Regions from separate parts of the Homo sapiens genome. Here regions 1 and 3 are each linked to region 2. The links are contacts of gene promoters, found by promoter capture Hi-C in blood cells and fetal thymus (Javierre and others, 2016). All regions are on one chromosome and are shown on one strand. Each heading gives the region's core, a stretch centred on a gene start or on the middle of the fragment in contact. The rest is flanking DNA. Distances are from core to core; before and after follow the strand shown.

Region 1 (3,004 bases), core at 87-2,586, 310 kb after region 2:
CATCTCCAGTTGGATCCTCGGTCCCAATATGCTCTGGGCCATGGGAAGTGGGGCAGAAAGATGAGGCCTTGGGTCCAGGGGGCCTGCCCAGCCCCACTGCCTTACAGCTACCCCAACCATCCCCCAGGTGGGTCCTGCTGGCTCCCAGTTCGGCATCCTGGCCTGCCTCTTCGTGGAGCTCTTCCAGAGCTGGCAGATCCTGGCGCGGCCCTGGCGTGCCTTCTTCAAGCTGCTGGCTGTGGTGCTCTTCCTCTTCACCTTTGGGCTGCTGCCGTGGATTGACAACTTTGCCCACATCTCAGGGTTCATCAGTGGCCTCTTCCTCTCCTTCGCCTTCTTGCCCTACATCAGCTTTGGCAAGTTCGACCTGTACCGGAAACGCTGCCAGATCATCATCTTTCAGGTGGTCTTCCTGGGCCTCCTGGCTGGCCTGGTGGTCCTCTTCTACGTCTATCCTGTCCGCTGTGAGTGGTGTGAGTTCCTCACCTGCATCCCCTTCACTGACAAGTTCTGTGAGAAGTACGAACTGGACGCTCAGCTCCACTGAGCTGGCTGCGGGCTCCAGCGGCCGTGTGCTCCAGCAGGCCAGAGCCAGACACGACCTCCCTGAGCCTCACAGGCTTACAGGAGTCACCTGCTCCATGTGGGGACTGGCCTGTTTCCTGAACACAGACCTCTTTCTTGTGCCTTGTTCACTTCTGTTGAACCCCTCGTACTGCCGGGCATTTATTATACTACTTCCTGTCATAACCTTCTAACTTGTTTCTTGACGACCACCTCATGTGGCCAATAAATGGACTGGGAGCGTTTTAGCTGCCATTAACTTGACCAGGGCTTCCCTATCCTTCTTTGTTTCTGGCTGGAAGCTGTGGAGGGAGGTCCTGCAGGCCCCTTGTGGCTGACTCACCCGGGCAGGGAACTGAGTGTCAGATACAGTCACGGGCTCTTTCACTTCCCAGTGAAATCCTTCAGCCAGGCACGTGCACCTTGCTCTTTCTTAGAGTGGCTGGTAGCCGACGCTGGGACAGGGACCTAGGGATGTACTGTCATACCCTCCCCACATGCTGGGAAGCACCCCGCCCCCACCCTTAGCAGCTCCAATTTCCACCCCACACTCCCTCCCTGTCCACCGAACCTGCTGCAGGGAACCCTAAAGGCTGAGGCTGGAGGGCCCACACACAGCTGTGCTATGCTTGCTGCCACTGTGAGCTCCAGGATGCAAACCCTAAAGCCGCTCTGCTTTTATTTCCTCCTTGCTGTGGAGATCATGGTAACACAGTTGTGTGGTTTGGGGAGTGGTGTGGCCTCAAGGCTTTGGTGGTGTGGCGCCATCTTGGACTATAGGACTCGCCTGTACCAATTCTCTCCCCTTAACTCACCTCTGTGATGGGGCAATCTCAGTCTTTGCTACCCAGGTTACTGTGGCTTTCTACTTTTCAAACTAAGAAGCAAACAGGTTTATTTTATACAGTGGGCCAGGCCGTGGGTCTGCCATGTGACTAGGGCATTTGGACCTAGGGAGAGGTCAGTCTCAGGCCAAGTACATGAAAGGAGGGAGCACTGGCTCACCCTGTCCTAGTCCTGAGGGCCCCCAGGTTTATGCTGACAGTTACTGTTGGGCATGCCTGGGGTGAGGCCACCACAACGTCCTTTCTGTGAAAGAGGCACGATGATTCGAGGACCCATTCCTGCTGGGAAAAAGCTCAGCCACCAGTGATGAAGAGGGTTGTCCTGTCTGGAGGCTCACTTTTGCCTCAGCTTTTTGATGAAGGAAACCTCGTCTCGATTCCGGATGCCGTAGCTGAAAAAGAAGGAAAGGCATAAAGCACCTGCCCTACAGAAGGACATATCTGTGACTCCCCTCCTGAGGCTGTGGAGGACCACGAAGAAACAACAGAGGGGAGGCGTGTGGCTTCTGGGAAGGCCAGGAAGTGCAGTGGCCATCCTCTCACAGACCCAGAAGCACTCCGACTCACAAGTCCCCGGGGCAGGGAACTGAGTGTCAGATAGAGTCACAGCCTTTCGCCTCCATGCCCACTCTGATTTCCTCCCTCCTGGCACTGTGTAGCCCTAAGCTGCCACTGGTGGGAAGCAGCAAGGCCCCTCCAGCTGCCCTCTGCCTGCCATTCTCCTAGTGGGGAGGGCCCCAAGGAAGCTCCTTGGAGGAGGGTGTTATCTCCGGAGAGGGAGCCGCAGCCCTCTGGCAGAGCATGGGGGACTAAGGGGCAACAGAACAGCGGTGCCCTACGGCTCAGGACGTGGCCGGCACTTACTCTCGGAGCTTCTTTCTGTCTTCCGTGAGTTTCTCTCCTGCAGAGGTCAGATGGTACGTCCTCCACACGTAGGACCTGCAAGAGGGGAATGCAGGTAAACCACGTGCCCTGAGCAGGGTGAGCTGAGTGGCTCTGCATGACGTGGGCTTGAGGCATGCAGTCCTATGGGACCTGGGGCAGCTGTCCTCCCTACCTGGGCTGTTCTGTACAATGTGCAGATTGGGTCTGAGGCAGCTACAAGGAGGCTCTGTTCTCAGAGGGCTGTCTGGGGCGGCTTGGCCAAACAAACCTTGCTAATGCAACAGGCGACAGTGTTGAGACTCAGTGAACAGGATAGTTGATCCAATAGGAGAGTGAGGGCTGACAGCACCCAGGTGAGAAGGGGATGGGAGCCCCTACAGGTGTACCATCCAAAACTAGGGAGGCCACTTCCAGACACACTGGAAATTCCCGACAGTGTCCCCAAGTGAAGATACCCAGCAGCTCGGATGGGGTGATGCCGATGGAAGAGCAGAATGTTGGGGATGGCCGAGGCAGGAGTCCCAGGCACAGAACGACCCGCACTGTCTGTGACAGGGAGCTCATCACTCTTGTGACAGGGAGCTCATCACTTCAGTGGTGCTGTACTCATGCAGAGCTGAGAGCTGTTTCCAGGTGGTGCCTGGTGACAGTGCCAAGAAGGGCACTAGCCCCACGAAGGGCTATAATGAAGGGAATGTTGTTCCACTTAC
Region 2 (2,700 bases), core at 1-2,500:
TGAGATCCCTCTGCAGATCCCAGCTGCTGTCTGCAGTGGCCCCTGGGGCCTGGGCTTGGTTACTTGGAGACCACAGGTGCCTGTGCGAGGGTGGGGCTGTGTGCTCTGCTGGCCTGTGGGTGGCTAGAGATGGGGAGAAGGACTCCCTATGGTCCTGTTCCCTGGCGAGGCTGTGGTGAGACCCATGGCGCCCAGGAGCCCTGAGCCCACCACTGGGGCCGGGAGCTGTGGACTCCGAGACCCCTGCTCCTGGCCCCTGTGTGGCCCTGATGCCAGCCTGCCTGGGGCATGGAGGATCCCCCTCTGCTGCTGTGGTCACCATAGGGACGGGAGACGGAGGTTTCCCCCAGAGCTGATGGGCACTGGGGATGCAGGCTCCCGCCCCGCCCCTCCCTTTTTCCTGGCTCTGGAGCCTTGGGTCCCTGAGAAGAGCTTCCTTGGACTGGGGTGCTCTGCTGCTCTGGGGGTTTGGCCCAGAAGGAACCCCTACCCAGCCCTGTCCACCCACCCCAGCGTTCCTGGGCCCCCCTCTGGGAGCTTCCTCTTGGTCCCAGGAGCTGCGGTGGTGTCTGCCCCCTGCACTGGGCTCTGTGCCCTGTGGGTGTTCAGGAGACTGGACTGTCTCTGCTCCTCATGCAAACCTTGTGGGGGAAGCAATGACCAGGAGCAGCACCTGGCCCCTCCCTGAGGCCTGTGAGTGTCTCGGATCCGCCCTGGAGAAGTGAGTGGCTGAGACCCGGGTGGGGCCCTCCTACCCTTGGCTCTGGGGGCTTCCCTTCTGGGTCTTGTCCGGGATATGGCCTTCCTGAAGGTCTTACCTCCCCCAGCCGCCCTGCACTTGACCACCAAAGCAATCTCTAAGCTTATAAAGGAGAAACATATATATATGGGGTTTTTTGGAGTAAAGGAAAATTCTAAGATATTAAGACATATTTTTATGTAGATCTGATCTATCTGTGTTTGGTGAATTTAATATTCTACATTGATTTTTCAAACTAAACGAGTTTTTACATTTTTTCTGTGCTCCTTCCCGGGTAGGGTAAGTGGGGCCCGGGAGAACAAGCACCGCCCCGCCCGTGCCGCCCTTCGCGGAAACGCCGGGGCCGCACGTAGCTAACGGTGCCTTGAGCTGCTGCTGCTGTATGTGGGGTGTTTTTTACGGTCCCTAAAGACGGAAGCGGGGCGGGACGAGGGGGTAGACGGATGGCTTTTACAGCCAGTCAGCGGTGGGAGGAGGGCCAGGCGCGGCAGATCGGCTTCCGGTTCCGGTGGGCTCTGAACCCTGAAAGGTGGGCGCGGGCAGGTGGGGTGTGGGGGGGCGCCGGGGCAGAAGGGGAGGGGCAGGTGGGTGCGGGACAGGGGCCGGAGTGAGAACCGGGGGCCGGGGTAGGGGGTAGCGGGTGAGAGCCGGGGGCCGGGGTAGCGGGTGAGAGCCGGGGGCCGGGGTAGCGGGTGAGAGCCGGGGGCCGGGGTAGCGGGTGAGAGTCGGGGGCCGGGGTAGGGGGTGAGTGCCGGGGGCCTGGCCAGGCTGCGACTGACTGCGAGCCCCCACCTCCCGCCAGGCTCGCGATGCCTCTACACAAGTATCCCGTGTGGCTCTGGAAGCGGCTGCAGCTGCGGGAGGGCATCTGTTCCCGCCTGCCCGGCCACTACCTGCGCTCCCTGGAGGAGGAGCGGACGCCCACTCCCGTGCACTATAGGCCTCATGGGGCCAAGTTCAAGATCAACCCCAAGAACGGGCAGCGGGAGCGTGTGGAGGACGTGCCCATTCCCATCTACTTTCCCCCCGAATCCCAGCGGGGGTTGTGGGGCGGCGAGGGCTGGATCCTGGGCCAAATATATGCCAACAACGACAAGGTGGGTCCGCAGGCGGCCTTCAGGGGCTCCTCTCAGGGCTTGGCTGTGCCGGCTCTGTGCCGGACGCCCGGGGTACCTGGAGAGACCTGGGTGGGCCCTGGGGATTACAGCCTGGAGGCGACACATCTCCGGCAAAGGAGCACGCTGAGTGAAGAACCGCAGTTCTGGCAAACAGGACTGATAAAGTAGGGGTGAGGTGGGGTGACTCAGGCCGGGGGAGCAACCAGAGGCCGTGGGGAGTCGGGGTAAAGTTAGGATGGGGAGGAGGCCTGTGTGATGAGCAGAGCAGGTGGGAGAGGCGAGCAGAGCAGGTGGGGGAGGCGAGCAGAGCTTCGAGGCTGCTTGTGGTGGACTTCCTGGCGGGACTGCTGAAGCCTGTGGGGAGACTTGTGTCACCTCCAGGTTGGAATGTGACAACCTGTAAACTGTGGGGTCGCACATGTTTCTGAAACACATGCAGCAACCATGTGACCAGGGCGGGAACGCCCAGCTTGTTGGGGAGCAGCTGACTTCTGGGTACACAGTCAGGACCCGGGTCGGGCTGGGGCGGCACTGGGCTGGGGGCCGGCCCAGTTAGCTCTAGGTCCCCAGTCTGACAGCAGTGGTTCTGTGATGGAGCCTCCGGGGGGGAGGTGAGGGCAGTTGCCTGGGCCCCCCTTGGTATGTAAGAGAAAGCAGCAGTACTCATGGAGGCTCTGTTGCACCCTCAGCTCTCCAAGAGGCTGAAGAAAGTGTGGAAGCCACAGCTGTTTGAGCGAGAGTTCTACAGTGAGATCCTGGACAAGAAGTTCACAGTGACTGTGACCATGCGGACCCTGGACCTCATCGATGAGGCTTATGGGC
Region 3 (3,070 bases), core at 26-2,525, 300 kb after region 2:
TCAGTGGAAGATGGAGATGAGAACACCCTTGAGGCTTTGAAAGGAGTGAAGGCTAGTATTGGTGCTGGGGTGAGCAGCCCTGACCCCCGACCTCCACAATAGGCCACAGGCTGTGGAGGGGCTGGAGCTGCCTCCAGCTGTAGGAGGTGTGGCCATCAGTCGCTGGAGCCTTTATAAACAAGTCTTTGAGAGATGTGGCTGTATTGGCTACAGGGGCCAGGGTTCTAGTATCAGCCTTATGACCCCAGGGTGCCCAGCACACTGGCTCCGTCTTCTCTCTGATGGAGGGGGGTGCTGACAGCTGTTGAGGTGGGTGTCAGGTCAGAGCCCATGGACTCCTCTACACAGCTTTGAGCTGGCAGCTTCCCAGCAGGGTGGCTGCTGGCCTCTTGACTGGTCTCTGCGGCCATCTGTGTCTGATGAGCCCTGGAGGGCCAAAGCTTCCTTGGGCAGAGAAGGCAGCCACTGGGCAGGCCGAGGTTGGGTGTGTGTGAGCTACATCCTCCCTGCCTGGGGCTGTGCTGCCAGGCCCTGGGCCCAGGTGCTTATGGGAACCCCTTGCCAAACCCTGGGATATGGGGAGGGGGCAGCTGCCTCAGAAATAGCCTATGACTTCAGGCCACTGGCTGGCCTGGCCCCCTTCTGCCTCTTCCCCAAATAGCCAGGAGCTGGTCATGGGCCCATCCCTGGAGCCCTGCTCCCCGGGCGGTTTCTTCTGATCCTTCCAGGGACTCCCCAAAGCCCAGGGTCTGACCCCTTGGGTGATTACTTGTGGCCTAGAAGCTGAGCTGAGGATTCTGGGGTAGCAGAGGATTCTGGGGTAGCTGTTGGGAACACTCCTCTTACTGGTCAGGGCTCCCATTCCCTCGTGTCCTGGTGTGAGGGCCACAAACCCTGGGTTTGGTCTAGACCCTAACCCTAACCCATTCTCAGACGCCTGCCCACCAGCCCCGGGAGTGCTGGGCAACTGCAGCTGATTTCCATTTCTCCAGGGTGCATGACGCGGGAAGAGAGGGGCCGGGAGCTGGGTTTCCGTATAGGGGGCTCCTCCACCAGGACAGAGAGTAGTAGGGCAGGCAGGAGGCAGAGCACACATATGTGCACACACTTGTCTATGTGGACTGGGTACAATCCTGAGTTTCGTGCGCGTCCGTGTGAAGAGACCACCAAGCAGGCTTTGTGTGAGCAACAAGGCTGTTTATTTCACCTGGGTGCAGGCGGGCTGAGTCCGAAGAAAAGAGAGTCAGGGAAGGGAGATGGGGTGGGACCGTTTTATAGGGTTTGGGCGGGCAGTGGAAAATTACAGTCAAAGGGGGTTGTTCTGTGGCGGGGAGGAGTGGGGGTCACAAGGTGCCTCAGTGGGGGAGCTTCTGAGCCAGGAGAAGGAATTTCACAAGGTAATGTCATCAGTTAAGGCAGGAACCGGCCATTTTCACTTCTTTTGTGATTCTTCACTTGCTTCATCTGGATGTATACGTGCAGGCTTGGGCTCAGAGGCCTGACACTGAGCACACGTGTATCGACCCCCCTCTGATCATCCTTCTGATGACCTCACTCAGGAGGCCAGGGTGGGCTGAGAGCCTGGGGATTCCTGGACACAGGCTCTGAGCTGGGGATTTGCCTGCAGAGGCAGACTGGGGCATGCTCCCCACTGAAGGTGACTCCTGGGTGCGGGGGGTTTCAGCTCTGAGCCAGCTGTGACTGGTGCTCCTGGCAGCTGGCGATGAGTGTCTGGGTCTTGGAGCGGGTCTAGGTGGGGTCTGACAGAGTCCACTGCAGGAGGAGACCTGCTGACACCAGATGCCCAGCTGTGGCATGCTTTGGAGGCAAGCCCAGTCCCCAGCTTTCCAGAGAGGACACCACTTCTGGCCCTGCCAGCCTAGTCTGGGCATCCAGGCCCGATAGGGCTTGCTTATCCCTGGCAGGTCAATAATGCTAAGCATGGAGACTGTCCTGTCTCTGGCTGTGAGCCTGGCATGGGAGGGGTGGCACGTGCAGGCTATCGGAGCACTGAGTGTTGGCACTGGGGCAGGCTCCCTCTCACCCGGTGTCCGTGATGCACTGGCAGTCATCCCCTGGTGGAGTTACCCTCCACCCCCTCCAAAGCTTCCATTGTCTCCTTCTACATGAGAATTGTGTTGATATTGCTTGTGTTCAGAGAGCACCCATTATGTGCAGGCACCGCCCTATCCCGTGGCATGGACAAGGATATGGGCAGGGGAATCTTGCCCAGGCTCTGGGATCTACCGGTAAGTGTACCAGCACCTTTAGTTCAAATTCTCCCCTTTTCTGTCTAGCCAAGGAGCAGGCCATTGTCTGCGTCGGGCCCTCAAGTGCAACAGCTCAGTTTGGAGAGGGCTGGTGCCACCCAGACCCAGAGGATGGCACTGAAGCAGCAGCACCTTGTGACCAGCACAGGGCCTGAAGACACATTTGTCCGAGGCATGGGGGGGCACCCTGTAGAGGGGTCCTTAGGGACCCATGGGACGAAGGGATCCCTGCACCCTCTATCCAGAGGAAGCCTTGGCCACCCACCACTCAGAGCTCCTGGACAGCCCTGCCCGTACTCTGCTGTTGGCACCCCTGTCCCCCACCCTGGGAGGGTCAGCCCACCCAGTGTCAGGAGAGAAATGCTGGGAAACTCTCACCAGCAGCCCCAGCGGAAAGCAGAGTGCCATTTTGAGTCCAGCCCAGATTGTGCAGGGATATGAGCCCACCCCGGGGTGGCCGCTGAGCTCTGAGACAGTGAGAAGAGCCCAGAGTGGACACCAGACACTGCGCTGCCTCTGCTGAGTGGCTTCGGGTGGGGCCGGTGCAGCCTGGCCTGAGTGCCTGCTGGTGGAGCGGGGCTTCTGGGGGTAGGGGCACAGGGCAGGGGGAGGGGTAATGACTGTGGTCCTGAACTGAGTGTGTGCATCGGTGTGTACACGTGTGTGTGTGCACGTGTATGTACCCATGAAAGATGTACATGAGTAGGTGGGTGCATGTGAGCACGTGCATGTGCAGGCGAATGAACGCATGAAGTGGAAGGATGTGGGGACGTGTGTGTATGATTGTGAGTGATCGGTGC

What was found. Contacts are between HindIII fragments. The CHiCAGO score rates a contact against its expected background, and 5 or more counts as called.
Region 1: a contact is called between a fragment that was not itself captured here and the fragment with the promoter of MRPL28 in region 2, in 14 of 17 cell types (erythroblasts, total CD8 T cells, megakaryocytes and 11 more). The highest score is 11.5, in erythroblasts.
Region 3: a contact is called between a fragment that was not itself captured here and the fragment with the promoter of MRPL28 in region 2, in 4 of 17 cell types (erythroblasts, activated CD4 T cells, naive CD4 T cells and 1 more). The highest score is 7.1, in erythroblasts.

Annotation. Positions count from the first base shown.
Region 1 is chr16:55,883-58,886 of GRCh38, reverse strand. SNRNP25 (small nuclear ribonucleoprotein U11/U12 subunit 25) reads right to left here. Exons shown (of 5, transcript NM_024571.4): 4 at 2,274-2,348; 5 at 1,218-1,801. The coding sequence ends at 1,744. It overlaps RHBDF1 (rhomboid 5 homolog 1), which reads left to right. Exons shown (of 18, transcript NM_022450.5): 18 at 128-828. The coding sequence ends at 547. Among named protein-coding and RNA genes, the nearest start is that of SNRNP25, 3.6 kb to the right of the region's middle. The HindIII fragment of the contact is 6,639 bases long and covers 1-3,004 here.
Region 2 is chr16:369,088-371,787 of GRCh38, reverse strand. MRPL28 (mitochondrial ribosomal protein L28) reads left to right here and starts at 1,250. Exons shown (of 6, transcript NM_006428.5): 1 at 1,250-1,289; 2 at 1,563-1,857; 3 at 2,568-2,700. The coding sequence starts at 1,570. It overlaps PGAP6 (post-GPI attachment to proteins 6), which reads left to right. Exons shown (of 13, transcript NM_021259.3): 13 at 1-1,000. The HindIII fragment of the contact is 7,915 bases long and covers 865-2,700 here.
Region 3 is chr16:73,097-76,166 of GRCh38, reverse strand. LOC124903617 (a long non-coding RNA gene) reads right to left here. Exons shown (of 2, transcript XR_007064932.1): 2 at 1,177-1,787. It also overlaps a transcript of RHBDF1 not described here. Among named protein-coding and RNA genes, the nearest start is that of RHBDF1, 2.0 kb to the right of the region's middle. RefSeq lists enhancers at 870-1,687, 1,688-2,504, 2,505-3,070. The HindIII fragment of the contact is 1,666 bases long and covers 443-2,108 here.